Linked DNA regions of Homo sapiens: region 1 is linked to region 2. Evidence: promoter capture Hi-C in 16 types of primary human blood cells and fetal thymus (Javierre and others, 2016). All regions are on one chromosome and are shown on one strand. Each heading gives the region's core, a stretch centred on a gene start or on the middle of the fragment in contact. The rest is flanking DNA. Distances are from core to core; before and after follow the strand shown. Region 1 holds the start of SH2D4B (SH2 domain containing 4B). Region 2 holds the start of PPIF (peptidylprolyl isomerase F).

Region 1 (4,609 bases), core at 240-2,739, 1.2 Mb after region 2:
TGGTCGTAGGTATCTGGCGGCCCGGGAAAGACAAAAAGAAGCTGCCCGCAGGAGCCCAGACCCTGGGGGCCTTCCTCCCCTTGTCTCCTCTTTGGACTCGGGGGTCTCCCACCAGCCACGGCGAGGGGGAGAAAGAGAATAGCTGGGCAGAGGCTAGGGAAGACCCCCGGTCTCAGAAACTGAGGGGAGCCAGGACTCCCGGTGGGGGAGTCGGTGCAAGCCCTGAGGTGGGTGGATGGGAGTCCAGGGCCACAGCTCTGCAGCGGACAGGCGAGTCCTGTGGCGGCTCTAGGAAGGTCTGGGCACACTGGGACCAGCTAGCTGGACCTGGGTGGGGAGGGGTGGGGCGTCTGACTCCACTCCTGTGACCTGGACATTGCCTAGCTGAGCAGGAGCTTTGACCCTATGGGCTTACAGCTCATCTGAATCTGCTTAGTCCATCTTCCTGTTGTGTTAACCTTGCAGAGGGGGAAGAATGCCAACTCTCCACCCCTCTTCCATCACTCTTGGGTACCTGATCCACCTTCCACCCTCATGGGCAAGGAAGGGGACAGGAAGGTCACCAATCCAACCAAGCCACAGTGCCAAATCCTGTTGGTTCGTTTGTTTTCCCTTGGTTGGGTTATGTTTTCAAACCATCAACAGATTCATAGTTGCTAGTGGATGTCAAATTTCAAAACGGGGGAGTCCCAATACAGTGACTTGTCCATTAGGAAGCCATAGGCAAGCCACTTACTTTCTCTGAGCTTCAATATCCTTGTCCCAATAAGAAGGCATCTGTGATTTGCTCTGAGCACATATTTAGGGTGAGCTTTCACCCTAAAGATCTCAGCAACGGCAGCTTCTACCCACCTTCACACACCAAAGAGAGGGTGGCTTCCCTCCCAGCAGAAGGCAACATCCCGCCATTCCAGTGTGCTTCTGATCAGGGCACAGAGAAGAGCCAGTTTCATCTTCTTTCTTTTTGGTCAACTCCAGGCATCTGCAACAAACAAGATTAACAACGACCATTAAAACTGGCCCCTGGAGGGTTTATCTGTCAGCCACGCATGGCTGCAGGATCTCATTATATATAGGCCAAAGGGAAAGGATGTCTGCTTCCTTTCTGTCCTGGAATTCCAAGATAAAATCCCCTCCAGTTGTCTCTACTGATTCCATTTTGTTTTCTTTCTTGGCTGTAACACAGATAGGAGGAAAAATCTTTCCTCCCCCAAGGCAGAGTTTTAAACGCATCATCTCAGAATGCCAAATGTTCTGGAAAGGAAGAAAGTTGGCAGCGAAGGAACCCGCAGAGAGAGGGGCTGAGAGGGCTGAGGGGCCCAGCAGCTTCTGGCAGGCTCCTCTGGTCTGTGTTTGAAATTGGCTGAAAAGACATGGAATTTAGTAGGCAAGTCTGCCTCCTTCTCCTCCTCTTATCTGCAGAGGAGAGATCAGTTCCCAGCTGGCCGGGGCAGTGTCATTGATATAGCTGGTGTCATTGTTACCTTCCACTAACAGATCACTCGACACCTACCAGCCCAGGCAGGGCTGGGACTGGGCATTTCCTGGCTGAGCTGGAGGCTTGGGCCCTTCCCATTGTCTCAGAACCCCAGGTGATGCCAAGACATGGGCTCTCCTGGGATGCCGTGCTTGGTGACCCAGGAGAAGGACTAGATTGCTCCTGGTGGTTGCTCCCCCTTGCAGAGTCCCACCTGCCCCTTTGGGTCCTGTTGCCTGGCCTCTTTTGCTGTCCTGGGTAGAGGAGATGAGTTCGTCGCTGGCTGCAAGCTGAGGCCAACTGACAATGCTGCACAGAGAAGGGGCACCGAGAGTGGCCCCGGATTGAGCAGTCCGTAGTGCAGAGCAGCCCCTCGGGCGTTCTGCCTGGCCCTGCTTCCCCTGCTGGCTGCCCTTCTGGTGCGTGCATCCCAGGTGGCATCATGCTGCAGCAGATCCTGCACGACATGTACATCGACCCCGAGCTCCTTGCCGAGCTCAGCGATGTGCAGAAGCACATCCTCTTCTACAAAATGCGGGAGGAGCAGCTGAGGCGCTGGAAGGAGCGGGAGACTTGGGAGGCCCTGGCCCAGGACGAGGGTCTCAGGCCTCCAAAGACCAAGCGAGGTACGTGGCTGGGAGTCACAGAGAGGTAGGCCACCAGTCCCCCAGGAGGTAGAAAAATTAGCAGGGCCAGGCTGTGCCCTTCTTCAAGATGGGCACTGGGGTGATGAGGGCTGGGGGCTTGAAACCCTTGTCTTGTGGGCATCAGGTCCCATGAGCCTGTGCTTTTGCCTTTTGGCCAGGACCTTAGGGCTTCGAGGCTGCTGCAGAGGCTGTCCAGCGGCCCTTATTGGAGTCGGGGAGTTGGGACTTGCTTTGTCTTGTTGTGGAAGGCCCGAGTTCTGGGAAGACACCATTGAGACTTCAGATTGTGCTCCGACGTGGTTGGCAATGGTAGGGTGAACGACGGCATATTTGTGACCCTTGCCATTGGTTCTGGGCCAGAGTGTGGTGTAGATATGCAGTTCCTTTCTCCTTGGCATGCGTGGCACACCAGTTCTTGGCTAGGGCCCCTTCTGTGGACTGTGCCTCTCCCTCCAGATCCTCCGGCAGGAGGATGCTGTGGGTTGTCTCTGGAGCCCCACTGGGCATCCGGAGAGAGGGCATCAGGGAACGTCCCACACAATGAATGACCATCCCCAAATGGTCGTAGCAACTGCAGATGAGAAGCAAGGGCCTAGCCTACATTTCAGGTGTTTTGTATGCAAAGTCATGTGCCAGTCAATCCTATGGACTGGTACACCTGTGGGTGAAGGAAATCATCCAGGACCCCTGGGCCAGAAACTGGCAGGCTGCTGAGGCTTGGCTTGGCACAGGACTCAATCCTGCCAGGGATTGTAGTTTCTGTGGATGCTGCATGCACTTTACAGTTTGCAAGGCTTATGTGCCTTCACCCTTTGAAGTTTTCAATCCAGAACAAAGTCCTGTTTCAGGGCTGAGCACACAGCTCCCTTGGTGATCTGGCTCTTCTCCATGCCAGGCTCACTGCTGGCCAGTCCCCACCAGGTGCCACAGGCCACACCCACATCATCTGGACATGCTTGCTCTTGTCTCTGGTCTTCACATGAGTGGCTCTCACCGTTGGGAATGTCCTTCTGCCTTCATCCACCTGACAGACTCCATCAGGAGTGGCCCCCCTGCCCTGGAGTGTTCAGGGATGCTCTTGCATAGGGCAGTACTTGCTCCTCTGTGGCTGCCTGGCATGTAGGACCCACGCCTGCCCTGGCATTTGCCACCCTGTCATTGTCATTCCTCATCTGCTTGCCTGGCTCTCCGATGGGCTCAAAGGCACTGGTGTGTGAGGGCTTCCTCCACTCTATCTTCCTCCCCTGGGCCCAGCACAGAGGTGGCACATGGTGTTAAATCCTTGTTTTGAACAAGACACAGCAGGACCCTGCCGGGGAGGTTGGGGCAGAGCTGTGACTTGGCTGCAGGTGGCTGCTGCCAAAGCTGGGGCCTTCCGGGCTGGGCTGCGCTGGCAGCTGCATCACTAACTGGTGAAATGACAAGCCACCTTGCCAGCACCACCCGGCCTGAGCCCTGGGGACTCATGATGCCTGCATGATGACTCTTCTTGGAGGGAGACAGATGCCTAAAAATTTAACTGCAAAAATATTTATACAGAGATTTGTCACACATAGACATCTACATTTTCATGTATAAATTATACATTAAACTCATTTGAGTTTCTGGTGCAGAAGATCCTTTTTCTGGTAATTAATTTTCTGATTTATAAAGAATGGAAAAGCAGGAAAGCACGCCGAGGAATGTGTGTATCCCAGGTCAGGATCCCGCTTGGATCCTGGCTCTTTGCTTCGGTCCTGCCTTTTGGAACTGTCTGGGCATGCCACTGGGGAGCCTGGGGGCTGGCCCTGCCCAGGAGCCGGAAGAGCTTTCGGCCGGAGGGTCCAGGATATACAGTATCTGCTTCATGTCCTGGGGTCGTGATGAAGGGTGGCAACAACTTGTGAGCTTTACGTTGACTGGGTGCCTACCCAGCCCTTGCTGCTCCCGTGTCCCTGCGGGGTGGCAGGGCAAGCTCCCTGATTTCATTGCAGATAAGGAAGGTGAGGCTCAGAGAAGTGATGCGCTACATCCAAGGTCATCCAGCTGCTACATCTCATGACTTGGATCTGGGGTCTGGTGACTGATTTTTTTTCTGTTCATTCACTTCCAAACTCGGAACTCCAATTAAACAAGTGAGCTGTGCACACATTCACTTGTTCACTCATTCACCAATTCATTCACTTATCCAGCATTACTATGTGCTGATTTCAGTGAATGGGGCAGTGCTTGTCCTGGAGACGGTGGGTAGATGGATCATAGGGAACACAGCCAACTCGAGTGCCAAGGGTGAGGCTTGGTTCAAAGCAGCCGTGCCGTGTCCCAGGGCGGGAATTGTGCGGGGACGGGCTCCACGGAGGAATCTTCTCTTCCTTCCCTTGATGTTGCCAGAGGACTCAGGAGGCTCTCCAGATGCTGGTGAGACCCCAGCCCCAGTTGATGTCCAGGCTCTTGAAACTGTCTTGAGAAAGAACTCGGGAATGAGTCAGAATGATAGGAAAGGCAA
Region 2 (4,779 bases), core at 704-3,203:
CCAGCCCCTGGGGCCTGGCTTCCCCATCTGCAAAACAGAGCTGTCTCTCAGGCAGAGTTCACAGCTGGGAAAGGGTTCTGAGAACTGAAGTGGTCAAGTGAATGAAGGCAGCACTCCCCTGGGGTGGGGATGCTCATGCTTCATCAGGATGGGGCATAAACTGAGTCCCCCCAGGAGCAGGCTTGAGAAACAACAGGGTACGCTGAGCTACCTGCTGTGGCTGAAGGTCCTGTGAGCTCAGGGCCTGGAACTGGCCGCAGGGAAGCCTGGGGCCTTAAGGAAGCTTCATGACAAGGCACATGGCGTGATTCCTCCACTCTCAAATCCACAGGATGCACTGGTAGAGGAAGGTCTGGGACATGTGCTGAGGGCTCAAGTGGGCTCCCCACTCAGGCCTGCTCACCTCAGGGCACAATCATAAGAAAGGAGGGGCTGCTCCCCAGGGCAGAGTGAGGCCCCATTCTGGGCTGGGACCTGGAATGCATCCCACCTGGGCTTCACTGGGTGCCTAGGCCCCTCCTAGGCCAGGAATCGGAGAAGGGGGCTATGAACTTCCAGAAGCCAAGCTAGCCAAACTTCCAGAGGCCAAGCTAGCATTCTTATGAAGCTAGGGCACTGCTCTGACCTCATGAATTTGCTTGGCTGGCATTTTGCTGCCTGACCTGTTCCCATGAGCCCATTCAGGATCTGGGGCAGGTCAGTCCAGAGCTGGTCCCTACTCCTGCCCACCTGCCTCCAAGGCTCAGCCCCACCCCTTTCTCTGACCCCTCAGGCCTCTAACTGAGACCGCAGCTCTCTGAATCCCAAACTGTGAGAAAGACAGTCCAGACTCTGTCCATCACAGATGCCCACAGGCACAGTACTTAGTTGACAAATCCATGTCTCTCTCGTTCATTTTATCCTAAGAACAGACACGAGAAAAAAGCAGGATGAGGAGCATGATCGCACCCTTACCCTCCAGATGGGAAACTGAGGCCCAGAGAGGCCTGGAGCACTGGTGCAAGCTGGTAGCAATACTCCAGGGCTCCCTAGCCCTAGCCAGTGCCTTCCTGTGTCCAGGCCTCAGCTTCCCCTGGGGACAGTACAAGTGTTGGGCCAGATGCTCTCTCAGGTCCCTGCGTGGCATCCATTTATTGCAGACCTCCCACCACCTTGCAGTGAGGGTGGCTCTGGCTGCTGGGAAGCCCACTTTCAGCACGTGGGGTTTAAATGCTCCTGCTGTGGGTCTCCCCACTGAGTCCCCTCCCAGGGTGCATGCTGATGGGAGGGGGCAGCTGGCAGTCTGCCCCGGGGCTGTCAGTGTGGGTCCTAGGAGGAGGGATCAGACCCAGTCCTGGGGAGGGCTGGGGGCCTGAAAGGAGCATGATGAGCCCAGGCTGCGTTTTCAGTCTTGCTAGAAGCAGGTCTGGTCCCCAGAAACAACTAGAGACAGGCCCAGGCCGGGACAAGCAGGCTAGGGGGCATCATGGGAGGTGTCTCAGCTTATCTCCTCCCTCTTGCGCCTCTAGCTCACTAATCCCGCCTCTCATCTCACCTTTCTCTAACCCTCTCAGACTGCAGGACCTAGGGCAGCAGGGAAGCTTATTTGGCCTGAGCCTTACCTGCAAAGGGCTCAAAGGTAGACTTTTGCTATTATATTCAAATTGCAACGTATAGATGCTCATATTTTGGAATTAATTACGTTTTAGCAGTTTTTCTTTTTTTAAAAAAATCTGCTGGTACCTTAATAAACATGGAACCAGCAACCTTTTGCCAGGTGTCTGTTCTCCGGGTCTCTGGGCCTGGAGGCGGGAGTGTTTCAAAGCACTTCACGCTCCGCGGCCCCACCGGCTGGCTGCGCTGCCCGCTGCGGCCGGCAGGGGTAGTCCACGGACAGGCCTGGAGGAGGCGGGACGGGGGCAGGGCCGGGAACCTGGGCAAGCCAATAAAGGCTGCGGCGCGCGGCTGCGCGGGACTCGGCCTTCTGGGCGCGCGCGACGTCAGTTTGAGTTCTGTGTTCTCCCCGCCCGTGTCCCGCCCGACCCGCGCCCGCGATGCTGGCGCTGCGCTGCGGCTCCCGCTGGCTCGGCCTGCTCTCCGTCCCGCGCTCCGTGCCGCTGCGCCTCCCCGCGGCCCGCGCCTGCAGCAAGGGCTCCGGCGACCCGTCCTCTTCCTCCTCCTCCGGGAACCCGCTCGTGTACCTGGACGTGGACGCCAACGGGAAGCCGCTCGGCCGCGTGGTGCTGGAGGTGAGACCGCTCGCAGGGCCGGCCTGGGCGCGGGACACGGGCCCGGGGAGAGCCCTGGGCCCCGGGCGGCGCGGTGCCGGGCGCGCTGGGTGACCTTGGGCCTCCCCATGCCGAGCTCTGGGCCTCAGTTTCCCCATTTCTGAGAATGGGCGTCAGAATGATTTCTTCCGGCCTCCCTCGGAGCACTGGAGCGGGGGAGACGGGAGGGAGGGCACGTGTGGAGGAGAAAGCTCAAGGTCAGATCGCAGAGAGGGAGGGCTCAGCACCTCTGGGCCGGCCCGGGCACGAGGGAGGGGCTCCAGGAGCCTTCTGGGGCTGAGCCTAGATCCGGAGCTCCGAGGTGGGTGTCGGGGGTCTTGGGGTGAGCGTCGTGGCCCAGCGGGTGCTCACGTGGCGGCCCTTGCACAACACGGAGCGCTTCCTGGCTCCGGCCCCGCCCCTGCGGTCGGGCTCACACTGGGGGTGCTGGGAAATGGAGCGAGAGGTGGTTTCCAGCAGTAGTGCGGGCCCAGTAGGCCTCAGGCCCCGGCCACCTGGTGGACCCCAGAATGCCCCTCCTGCGAGTCGGGACACACTCAGAGACAGTGTGCCCGGCGCCTCAACCCCTGCCACTGTCCTTGGGGGCCACACTGAGCACCTCCCCTAACTCTGTTTTTGGGTCTTTTCTAAAGCAAAGTAAGAAACAGTCACCAGGGTAGCTTTAGAGGGAAAGCCCTAGTGGAGCCTTCAGGTCGGCCACACATTGACAGCAGGGGTCTGTTTGTGTTGACTGGCCCGTATCCCAGGGAGCCCTTAGTATTTCTTCTTCATTCTCAGTTTCTTCTGGAAAATAGGGACACCCTTCCTGCTTCCATTTGGTTCCAGGGTGGGTCTTGCAGCTTCGAGGGTAGAGGCTGGCTGGGATGGGGCTTCAGCCTTCCCTCCCCACACCCTCATGCCTCTCCCTGGGCCTCAGTTTCCCAACCCCGAATGGAGGAGCTGGTCTGGCTTCTACCTTAGACACACTCTCTTGTCCCTGAATTTCTGATGCTTTGGGCCCAGCTGTGGGAGCACTGCCAGCTGTGTCCACAGAAGTAGGCCAAGATAGCATTGTCATCTCTTCTGACAGATTAGGAAACCAAGGCCACCTCCTCCAGCCTTGGGTTCAGGAAACGGCTCCCAGAAATGATAGAGCTGCCTCCCATGGGGGTTGGCAATAATGGGAATGGAATGTCCACGTGCTTCTTCCTTAGCCTCCTTGGCCACTGTGGGGGTGGGTGGGTGCTGAGAGACACCCACCTTCACCTGCCTCTCCAATGACCATCCTCTTTTGTCCTTCTTCTCCCCCAACAGCTGAAGGCAGATGTCGTCCCAAAGACAGCTGGTAAGACAGGGCCTGGGGCCTTCTGAGATGGGTCTAGAGGGAAGGGGGCCAGGCAGGGCAAGGTGGGTGGCGTGATGAGAAGAGTCGGGGCTCAGAGACCCCTGACAGATGGGAGCTCCATGTGTGGCTCAGCCATTGGGTGCTCTGGGGCAGCCCTGCCATCCCTCTCTGGGCCTCAACGTTGGCTCTGCCCTCCTCTCTCATAGTAGCTGGGAGCCTCAGAGCCAGTGGAAGGCACATGTAAATTTCCCGGAGACTTCCCCACTCCTGGTGCCCAGTGAGGCAGGGTGATGGGCACACAGCCCTTGAGTCCGTGCCCTGCTGGCCAGCACAGCCATGAGCCTGTACTCTTGTCACAGTGCTCAGGTACTGAGGACAGGGAAGGGGAGTGACTTGTCCAGTTACATAGCGAGTTGGGCAGAGCAGACCCAAGAGGTGGGCCAGAGTCTTTATCCCCCTGTTCACTGCTGGGGATGTAGCAGGGATTTTGGCTGGAACGGGTATGACCCTGGAATTGGGGCCTGGCCCTGTTGACCTGTGTTTCTCTTCGACCCTCAGAGAACTTCAGAGCCCTGTGCACTGGTGAGAAGGGCTTCGGCTACAAAGGCTCCACCTTCCACAGGGTGATCCCTTCCTTCATGTGCCAGGTAATGTAGTTTCCTCTTCTGTAAGGGGGGATGAGAGCAGGAGCTGCCTTGTGGGTGTGTGAAGATGCCTGGTATGAGGAAGGTGCTGAGCAGAGCAGCTGCAGTTGCTCTGTCAGCCAGGCTGCCCTCCCTGCATTAGCCCTGTATCCAGGCTTCACTGCACATGGAAGCCCAGCCCCAACCCGCTGCCACTCCAGGTCAGTGGCAGGCCCTGCCCGGGGGACTGGGAGGTGGAGTCTATCAAGAGAGAGCTGGGTTGGGAGATGGATGTGCTGGGGGTGGCCTTGAAGACTTTGAAGAGCCAGCATATTCCAGTGGTCTCTGACCTTGTCCCCTGTGTGCCCCTGAGCACTGGTGTGGGAGATAAGAGAGGGAGAGAGAGAAGTGGAGGAGGCGGAGGAGGAAGACAGGTCCAGGGCAGGAACACACACGCCAGGACTTGGGGCTTCCCTTCCCAGAGAAAGGCATTATTCTCGGTGAAATGAATGTTTTTCGGTCATGTGTCATGCTCAGTTTTCACAAGCATTGGTATTGCTGTGTC

Evidence for each region. Contacts are between HindIII fragments. The CHiCAGO score rates a contact against its expected background, and 5 or more counts as called.
Region 1: a contact is called between the fragment with the promoter of SH2D4B here and the fragment with the promoter of PPIF in region 2, in 6 of 17 cell types (non-activated CD4 T cells, activated CD4 T cells, total CD4 T cells and 3 more). The highest score is 11.6, in non-activated CD4 T cells.

Annotation. Positions count from the first base shown.
Region 1 is chr10:80,536,413-80,541,021 of GRCh38, forward strand. SH2D4B (SH2 domain containing 4B) reads left to right here and starts at 1,490. Exons shown (of 8, transcript NM_001388272.1): 1 at 1,490-2,103. The coding sequence starts at 1,920. RefSeq lists enhancers at 3,194-3,333, 4,371-4,550. The HindIII fragment of the contact is 17,935 bases long and covers 1-4,609 here.
Region 2 is chr10:79,345,516-79,350,294 of GRCh38, forward strand. PPIF (peptidylprolyl isomerase F) reads left to right here and starts at 1,954. Exons shown (of 6, transcript NM_005729.4): 1 at 1,954-2,228; 2 at 3,561-3,591; 3 at 4,150-4,238. The coding sequence starts at 2,034. RefSeq lists cis regulatory regions at 1,621-2,198, 1,698-2,739, 1,698-2,371, 1,698-2,249, 1,698-2,248 and 5 more, silencers at 1,728-2,137, 2,158-2,387 and an enhancer at 3,702-4,202. The HindIII fragment of the contact is 8,142 bases long and covers 1,579-4,779 here.